Linked DNA regions of Homo sapiens: regions 1 and 2 are each linked to region 3. Evidence: promoter capture Hi-C in 16 types of primary human blood cells and fetal thymus (Javierre and others, 2016). All regions are on one chromosome and are shown on one strand. Each heading gives the region's core, a stretch centred on a gene start or on the middle of the fragment in contact. The rest is flanking DNA. Distances are from core to core; before and after follow the strand shown. Region 1 holds the start of KCTD14 (potassium channel tetramerization domain containing 14). Region 2 overlaps NDUFC2-KCTD14 (NDUFC2-KCTD14 readthrough). Region 3 holds the start of RSF1 (remodeling and spacing factor 1).

Region 1 (2,700 bases), core at 181-2,680, 200 kb before region 3:
CCAAAGTGCTGAGATTACAGGCGTGAGCAACCGTGTCCAACCCTATTCCGTTAGTTCTGTCCCTCTGTAGAACCCTGACTAATAGAGTCATTTCTGGTAAATGCTAATGTTAGACAGAAACGAAACTTAACATTAGCCAACCACAAGCAGCCAACTAACATACAATTAAGTAGCTGTGGACTTTTCAACAAAGGAAACCAAAAAAGGAGATTTTTTAACTGTAACCAATTTTATATATATATATGTATATATATATATATGTGTGTGTGTGTGTGTGTGTGTGTGTGTGTGTGTATATATATATATATTTTTTTTTTTTTTTTTTGAGAGGGAATCTTTGTTGCCCAGGCTGGAGTTCAGTGGTGCAATCTTAGCTCACTACAATCTCTGCCTCCCGGGTTCCAGCGATTCTCCTGCCTCAGCGTCCACAGTATCTGGGATTACAGGCACATGCCATCACACCCAGCTAATTTTTGTATTTTCAGTAGAGACGGGGTTTCACCATTTTGGTCAGGCTGGTCTCGAACTTCTGACCTCAAATGATCTGTCCGCTTTGGCCTCCCAAAGTGCTAGGATTACAGGCGTGAGCCACCATGCCTGTCCCCAACAAAATATCTTGCTTCCATATTCTCCCCATAAATATTTGCCTCTGATGCATTGTCATGGGAACACTCAACCTCTTTCCATCTGGTGTTCCCCGATTCAAGAATTGCCTGTTACTCAAGTATACTCTTAAAAAAGTTTTGTTGATCCTCAGACTTTACATTTTAACACCACCCTACCTCCTAGAGCGCCAGTTTTCTGATCTGTAAAATGGGTGTTGCGGATCTTTCACTCCCTAGGACTGTAGGGAATAGAAAGTCTCTGGTTGTCAATGTCAGTCAATGTCAATTCCTTCTGCCTCCCCCATTTCACTACTGGGAACTCCGAGGCCCAGAGAGGGGCATTAACTAATGTCAACTTTAATAACGGGATTCAAGCAATATGTTTAAGTAATTTATTTAAGCGTAAAAGAAAATATAGGAAGAGGCAAGTTGCCGTGGCTCAGGCCTGTAATCCCACCACTTTGGGAGGCTGAGGTGGGAGGATCACTTGAGCCCAGGAGGTTGAGGTTGCAGTGAGCCTGATCCGCCACTGCACTTCAGCCTGAGCGATAGAGTGAGACCCTGTCTCTGAAAAAAAAAAAAGAAAGAAAGAAAGAAAAGGAAGGAAATTAATCTATATCAAAAGGTCAGTCCTTAAGGGGTCTGCTCCATTTCTCGGTCTCCAAAGTCAGCCCTTCTCAGGGCCTAACAACTTTTAGAAGCCCCAAATAGACAGACTGTCCATTTCTTTCTGCACTTGGCCCAGTCTCACTGCAAGCCACGCCTGGCTCAGCCCCGTCCCGCCTTGAGCCTCGGTGTTCCCACCTAGGGGCGGGCAGCCAGGGGCACTTCCGCTGGCCCAAGTGATCTGCATGTGGCAGGGCTGCGCAGTGGAGCGGCCAGTGGGCAGGATGACGAGCCAGACCCCTCTGCCCCAGTCCCCCCGGCCCAGGCGGCCAACGGTAAGTGCGAGGCTAGCTGCGTCCCCGCGCCTCTGTCCTCCGCCTCTTCCCTCCGCCTCTTCCCTCCCTTCCAGTTTCTCCTGCCCGTCCCTCCCAGACGCCCGAGCCCCCTGCTTCTGGCGCGCTGTCCCCCTTCACCTCGGGCTGGTCGCTCTCTTCAATCTTTGCCGTCCCTCCTGCTGGGATCACTCTCCTTTCGCGCCTCGGTGTCCCTTTCTGGTTTGGCTCTGTCCAGCCTTTCCTCTTTGCCCTTTTGCTTCCTCCCTCTACATTGGGTCTTTAGTTCCTTTCCCTTGTCTCTTCCCCACCGGCTTGTCCTAGCCCACGACTCCTCCTCTGCCCCACCTTCTCCCTTGCTCCCGGTGGGAGAAGCCCATCCAACCAGCTCGGCCAGAGGATCTTTCCCTCACCTGCAGCCCTCTCCAGCCTGCCCCTGCCCCTTGGCTGGGTCTTCAGCCTGCCCCTGCCCTCTGGCTGGGTCCCAAATCCCTCTGCTTGCCTGCCTGGTCCCCAGCTTGGGTGAGGGGAGTTGGGGAGGAGGATGGGGAAAAGGCTGCGTGCACTCTGGGAGCAGAACATTCGGGTTCTCTCCTGCACTGAGAGTCATCCTGAAGACCTGGAGGAAGAGAAAGCAGATCCAGCAGCAGGGCAGCGTGGCTCTCTCTAATAGGGCCATGATCACGTCATTGTTGTTGGCTATTGACAAAGCCACATGCCTAGTGCCAGGACCACCCTAGGTGTTCCATAAATGCCTGAATGAATTACTGGGGAAGTGTAAGGCACTGTGCATGATGCCAGGTAGGGCAAGATTGGCCTTGAACAGAATACTAGATGCTCCTGTAAATCAGAGGATATTCCCCTCCCTTAGGAGCCTCACAGAGTTTTTGTTTGTTTGTTTGTTTGTTAAAATAGAGATGGGGTCTCGCCATGTTGGTGAGACCCAGGCTGGTCTCAAACTCTTAGGCTCAGGCAATCCTCCTACCTCAGCCTCCCAAAGTGCTGGGATTACAGGCATGAAACACAGCACTTGGCCAGGAACCTCACAGTCAATGAAGAAACAGGGAATTGCAAGGGAAGAACTGCCAGGCCAGTGGAAGTATAGTAGTGTAGGACTTTCTGGGATCACAGTGAGACAACCCACCCCGAAGGACTCC
Region 2 (2,700 bases), core at 33-2,532, 230 kb before region 3:
GTTGGCCAGGTTGGTCTTGAACTCCTAACCTCACGTGATCTACCCGCTTCAGCCTCCCAAAGTGCTGGGATTACAGGCGTGAGCAACCACACTCAGCCCCAAGTGTACTTTCTTTCCTTTCCTGCTCTAAAGCTTTTAATAAACTTTCACTCCTGCTCTAAGACTTGTCTCGGTTTCTCCTTCTGCCTTATGTGCCTCAGTCGAATTCTTTCTGCTGAGGAGGCAAGAACTGAGGTTGCGGCAGACCCATACGGATTCGCTGCCGGTCACGCTCCTTGTATTAATTTTGTATTGCTGTTGTAACAGATGAACACAAACCTAGGGGCTTAAAGCAACAGACACTTATTACCTTATAATCCTGGAGGTCAGAAGTCCAACATGGGTCTCACCAGCGTAAAATCAAGGGGTCAGCAGGGCTGCCCTCCTTTCTGGAGGCTCTGGGGAGAATTCGTTCCTTGTCTTTTCTGGCTCCTAGAGGCTGCCCGCACTCTTTGGCTTGTAATCTTTTCCTCTGTGTTCAAAGCCAGGAACACCTTTTCATGCTGCCTCTCTGGTTCTCCCTCTTCCAGTTACATTGGGTACTGCTGGATAATTCAGGATAATCTTTCCATCTTAAGGTCAGCTGATTAGCAATCTTAACTCCATCTGCCCCCTTAATTTCCCTTTGCCATGTAACCTAACATTTACAGGTTCAGGAATTAGGAAGGTGGCATCTTTGGGGGCCATTATTGTGCCTATTACACTCATCCCTTTCAATTTTGTTTTTATATGCCATGGTATTTTTTTTCTTTCTTTTTTGAGATGAAGTCTCGCGATGTTGCCTAGGCCGGTCTCGAGCTCCAAGGCTCAAACCATCCTCCCACTTCAGCTTCCTCATTAGCTCAGACTGCAGGCGCCTGTTACATTGCTTTGGTGCCTTGTATTTTTGTTTTGTTTTTATTTTATTATTTTATTTTTTTGTTTGTTTTTGGTTTTGAAACGGAGTCTCACTCTGTCGCCCAGGCTGGAGTGCAGTGGTGCAATCTCAGCTCACTGCAACCTCTGCCTCCTAGGTTCAAGTGATTCTCCTGCCTCAGCCTCCCGAGTAGCTAGGATTACAGGCGTGAGCCATCACACCCAGCTAATTTTTGTATTTTTAGTAGAGACGGGGTTTCACCATGTTGGTCAGGCTGGTCTGGAACTCCTGACCTCAGGTGATCTGCCTGCCTCGGCCTCCCAAAGTGTTGGGATTATAGTCATGAGCCACTGCACCTGGCCTGTTTTGTTTTTTTTGAGTCAAGATCTCACTCTGTCACCCAGGCTGGAGTACAGTGGCATAATCACGGCTTGCTGTAGCCTCAACTTCCCAGGCTCAAAGGATTCTCCCACCTCAGCCTTCCCGAGTAGCTGGGACTACCGGCATGTGCCACCAAGTCCAGCTAATTTTTTTATTTCTTGTAGAGACAAGAAATATAATTTGGCTGGGCACAGTGGCTCACGCCTGTAATCCCAGCACTTTGGGAGGCCGAGGCAGGTGGATCATGAGGTCAGAAGATCGAGACCATCCTGGCTAACATCGTGAAACCCCGTCTCTACTAAAAATACAAAAAATTAGCCAGGTGTGGTGGCAGGCGCCTGTAGTCTTAGCTACTCGGGAGGTTGAGGCAGGAGAATGGCGTGAACCCAGGAGGCGGAGCTTGCAGTGAGCTGAGATTGTGCCACTGCACTCCAGCCTGGGCAACAGAGCGAGACTCTGTCTCAAAAAAAAAAAAAAAAAAAGAAATATAAGTTTCGTCACATTGTCCAGGCTGGTCTTGAACTCCTGGCCTCAAGTGATGCCCCTACCTCAGCCTCCAAAAGTGCTAGGATTACAGCCATGAGCCACCGTGCCTGGCCAGGATATAGTATATTTAATAAAATATATACCTATTAAAATTTTTCTGGCTGGGTATGGTGGGCTGTAATCCTAGCACTTTGGGAGGCCTGGGTAGGAGGATTGCTTGAGGCCACGAGTCTGACACCAAGATGGGTGACATAGTGAGAGGCCCCATCTCTACTAAAAAATATTTTTGCAACCTGGGCAGCATAAAGAGACCCCATCTCTACAAAAAATTTAAGTTAGCTGGGTGTGGTGGCATGCGCCTATGGTCCCAGCTACTCAAGAGGCTGAGGCAGGAGGATTGCTTGTGCCCAGGAGGTCAAGGCTGCAGTTAGCCGTGATCATTGCCACAGCACTCCAGCCTGGGCTACAGAGCAATGCGCTGTCTCAAAAAAACCCCCAAAATTATGATTTCATGTATCTGTATATTCTTTATACCTACACAGGTAGTAAACACAAACTTAAACGTTGGAATGAAAAAGCAAATTGAAGGAGCCATCTGGGTGGAGGGAGGGGAAAAAAGGAAGCGTACATGAGTACTTTATATTCATTAGGTCTTATTTCCCAAGCTTAGTAATGGCTACATGAATATTTATATATTCATCATCTAATATTTTTGAATAGATTAAGTACTTATAACAACAGAAAAGGAAAAGTGAGAAATGTTTTCTAGGAATAAATGCAAGCCTCAGCAAAAGTTCAGAGGCATGAAATAGCAAGATACATACATACATATATACTGATGATTCTCCAGCATGCCTGCACTCTCTCCCAAACTCCACCATAACTTCCAAATCTTTGCTCACCTCTTCCTAACCTCGCCCCCTTAAGTCCAGCCTCAG
Region 3 (2,700 bases), core at 118-2,617:
TTATAGACTAAATAAATATAGCGGAATTCAGTCTAAATTATAGGAACTCCTTTTTTGATAACTAATATTTTTAAAGTACTCACTATGTGCTACGGCACTGTGCTAATCACTTTACTGTGATTTATCTAGTAATACCGTATGATGTAGGTACTATTATCACCCCACTCTAAGGAGTTCAAAGAAATAAAGAAACCTCCACAGTGTCATGAAGTAGCCCCGCTAGGACTCAGGCCTGGCTGAATCCAAAGCTCAGGCTTCTAAGCATAACGTGTACTGCTGCTTCTCAGGCTGCACATTCTATTTTACATTATTGGTAGTTTCTCTCTGGCGTTCTTTGTGGGAATGTTCACTGCCCCCGCCCCGCCCCGAAGTGGAACCCTGTCTTCTAACAAACTTTTCGCTGCTCCACCGTCTCCTGTCATGTTCCGCCTCTCAATGGAGTCCCAGCCCACACTCCGATTCTGGTCCCTGAACAGAGCCCCTTCCCCTCACACCATGGCCCCCTAGCAGAGCCTGGTCTCCTCAGATCCTCTTCTCCCAGCAGGGCCCCAACTCCTCACTCCGACGATTCCCCCAGAGTTCCGTTCCCTCAGATCCTGCTTTTCCAGCAAAGCTGCGATTCCTGTACCCCAGCAGAGAGCAATACCCCGTCGGCAAACTTCCACAGAGACATCTTACCGAGGTCCCAGCCCAGCCCCTAATTAAGGGCACACCTCTACCTTTCCCCTTCCCAACCTTCTCCCACAACTGTGCTTTCCCCCGCCCTATTCCCTTTTTCTGTTTATTAATTCTCCTCAACCTCTCCACCATCTCGTGGCCCAGTTTCAGGATTCCCCCGCAAACTCACCCACCGCACTGTCTCCTCAAAGTTGCGTTCCCAAACGGCGCAGTGCTCTGCCCGCACTTACGCTCCCAGCGCTGCTTCGGGATCTGCGCTCCCCAACTGCCCTCCGGGAATACGCCCTGCAGTTGAACAGCGCCCGAGGCCCCGCCCCCTCTGCGTCCATTGGCCATTGTTCTCGAGAAGTCCCGCCCCTCCCGCTTCCAGCCCGCCTCCCCGCCCCGCTTCCCTTGTTTTCATTCCCCCTGTCACACGAGGCAGTGGCAAGCCCGAAGGGGAGGAGAGAAGGGGGCGGAAAGAGGGCGGAAAGTGAAAGGCGCCGAGGGCCGCTCTGTCTCCCGTCTGACTCGGTTCTCGACTGCTCCGGGCCGCCGATGTATTGTGGGATCGCGGAGCCGTCCCTGAGACGCTGGGATCCGCAGAGGAGCCCACTTGAGAGCGCCTCCTGTCGTCTGTAAGGTTGCCTTGCCATCCCTCGGCACCACAACTTCCCCCGCCCCCCCATCGCCTCCTCCTCCATCCTCCAGTTCAAAATGGCGACGGCGGCGGCAGCGGCGGCGGTGATGGCTCCTCCGGGCTGCCCGGGTTCGTGCCCCAACTTCGCCGTAGTCTGCTCCTTCTTGGAGCGCTACGGGCCGCTGCTAGACCTGCCTGAGTTGCCGTTCCCTGAGCTGGAGCGGGTGCTGCAGGCGCCGCCGCCGGACGTCGGCAACGGAGAAGGTAAGCGAGGGGCCCGAACGCCCGGCGGGAAGCGGCCCTGGCGCTCTGCTACTCTCCGCTCTTCACAGGCGCCCCGGTTCTTCGCGGCTCGGGCCTCCGCGGCTCTGTCTTCCCCCTGGGACGCAACTCCGCCGGGCTGGTCTTCTCCGCCCAGCCCCCGGGGTCTTGGGCAGTGGGGAGGCGGGGCGGAGGCCCCCTAGGGCCACTCGGCCGGGCGGGGAGCTGAGGTGGAGGCGTTGCGGGCTAGGTGTGGGCTGGAGGCGGGGAGGGGTCATTGTGCCGGTCGGCAGCCCCGGGGACTGCTTCTCCGCGGCGGAGGGCGGCCCCCCACCCCGTCTCCCCCTTGGCGGCGGGGGAAGGGGAGCGCAGGTTCCGGCCAGCTTTGCGCTTTTCTCCTCCTCCCCACCCTTACTCCCTCCCCTCCTCCCACCAGTCTTCCCGACCATCTCGGGGAAGGCTGGGCTCGGCTGCTCCGGACACCTCCTTATCTCCCTTCACCTGGGTGGGCGGGGGCCAGCGGACACTCAACTCTCCCTCCCTCTGTTGGGAACTCCCCTGAGAGATTTGTCCCTTTTCCCTTCCCCTCGAGGGCTGCTTTAACCCCTAAAACTCCTTCCTTGAAGTGGGGAGGTCTGCTCCTCCCCCACGGGAGGGGGTTCTTCTCCATTCTCGGTAGGGGGGCGAAGTCGGTTCAGCTCCACTGTGGAGAGGAGAGGGTTAATTCCTCCTCCATAGTTCTCCTTCCTCTCCCCACCTCCCCCAAAATAATAGGCGAGCATCTCCCCACTTTTCCAATCCCTTCCCCCTTCATCTTGGCAGCCGGGCTTAGGCGAAGAAGTCGTCTCCCTCCCATTTGCACGGTAGGGTGGGGTGGTTAGTATGTAAGCTGGAGGAGGGGCTCTGACGGAGGGGGAAACAGTTGAAGAAGGTGCTTGTTGCTCATGTTTCTCTCTCTGGTGCCGCTGGTCTATTATTGGTGTTCGCAAGTGGTGCTCCTTCCACATAAGGCCACCGCGCGGGTGCAGGGCGCATGCTCTGCCCGGCCCCATTGAAACTTCCTGCTGCTGCTGCTGGTTCTTTTGCTGGAGCATCTCAGCGCTGCGCCTGCTGCCTCCAGCCTTCACACTGAGTGCTTATAC

The links. Contacts are between HindIII fragments. The CHiCAGO score rates a contact against its expected background, and 5 or more counts as called.
Region 1: a contact is called between the fragment with the promoter of KCTD14 here and the fragment with the promoter of RSF1 in region 3, in 7 of 17 cell types (total B cells, total CD4 T cells, erythroblasts and 4 more). The highest score is 8.4, in total B cells.
Region 2: a contact is called between a fragment that was not itself captured here and the fragment with the promoter of RSF1 in region 3, in 2 of 17 cell types (megakaryocytes and endothelial precursors). The highest score is 5.2, in megakaryocytes.

Annotation. Positions count from the first base shown.
Region 1 is chr11:78,022,006-78,024,705 of GRCh38, reverse strand. KCTD14 (potassium channel tetramerization domain containing 14) reads left to right here and starts at 1,430. Exons shown (of 2, transcript NM_023930.4): 1 at 1,430-1,546. The coding sequence starts at 1,457. The region is part of intron 2 of NDUFC2-KCTD14 (NDUFC2-KCTD14 readthrough); the gene reads left to right. LOC124902723 (a long non-coding RNA gene) reads right to left here and starts at 2,163. Exons shown (of 2, transcript XR_007062795.1): 1 at 1,685-2,163; 2 at 984-1,172. RefSeq lists enhancers at 936-1,503, 1,504-2,073, 2,074-2,641. The HindIII fragment of the contact is 5,224 bases long and covers 1-2,700 here.
Region 2 is chr11:78,046,587-78,049,286 of GRCh38, reverse strand. All of the region lies in intron 1 of NDUFC2-KCTD14 (NDUFC2-KCTD14 readthrough), which reads left to right. Among named protein-coding and RNA genes, the nearest start is that of THRSP, 16 kb to the left of the region's middle. The HindIII fragment of the contact is 2,295 bases long and covers 135-2,429 here.
Region 3 is chr11:77,819,389-77,822,088 of GRCh38, reverse strand. It overlaps RSF1 (remodeling and spacing factor 1), which reads left to right and starts at 1,367. Exons shown (of 16, transcript NM_016578.4): 1 at 1,367-1,561. The coding sequence starts at 1,375. AAMDC (adipogenesis associated Mth938 domain containing) reads right to left here and starts at 945. Exons shown (of 4, transcript NM_024684.4): 1 at 848-945. RefSeq lists silencers at 908-1,067, 1,658-1,747, 1,888-1,977 and enhancers at 1,168-1,307, 1,318-1,487, 1,040-2,012, 2,608-2,700, 2,013-2,700. The HindIII fragment of the contact is 10,465 bases long and covers 1-2,700 here.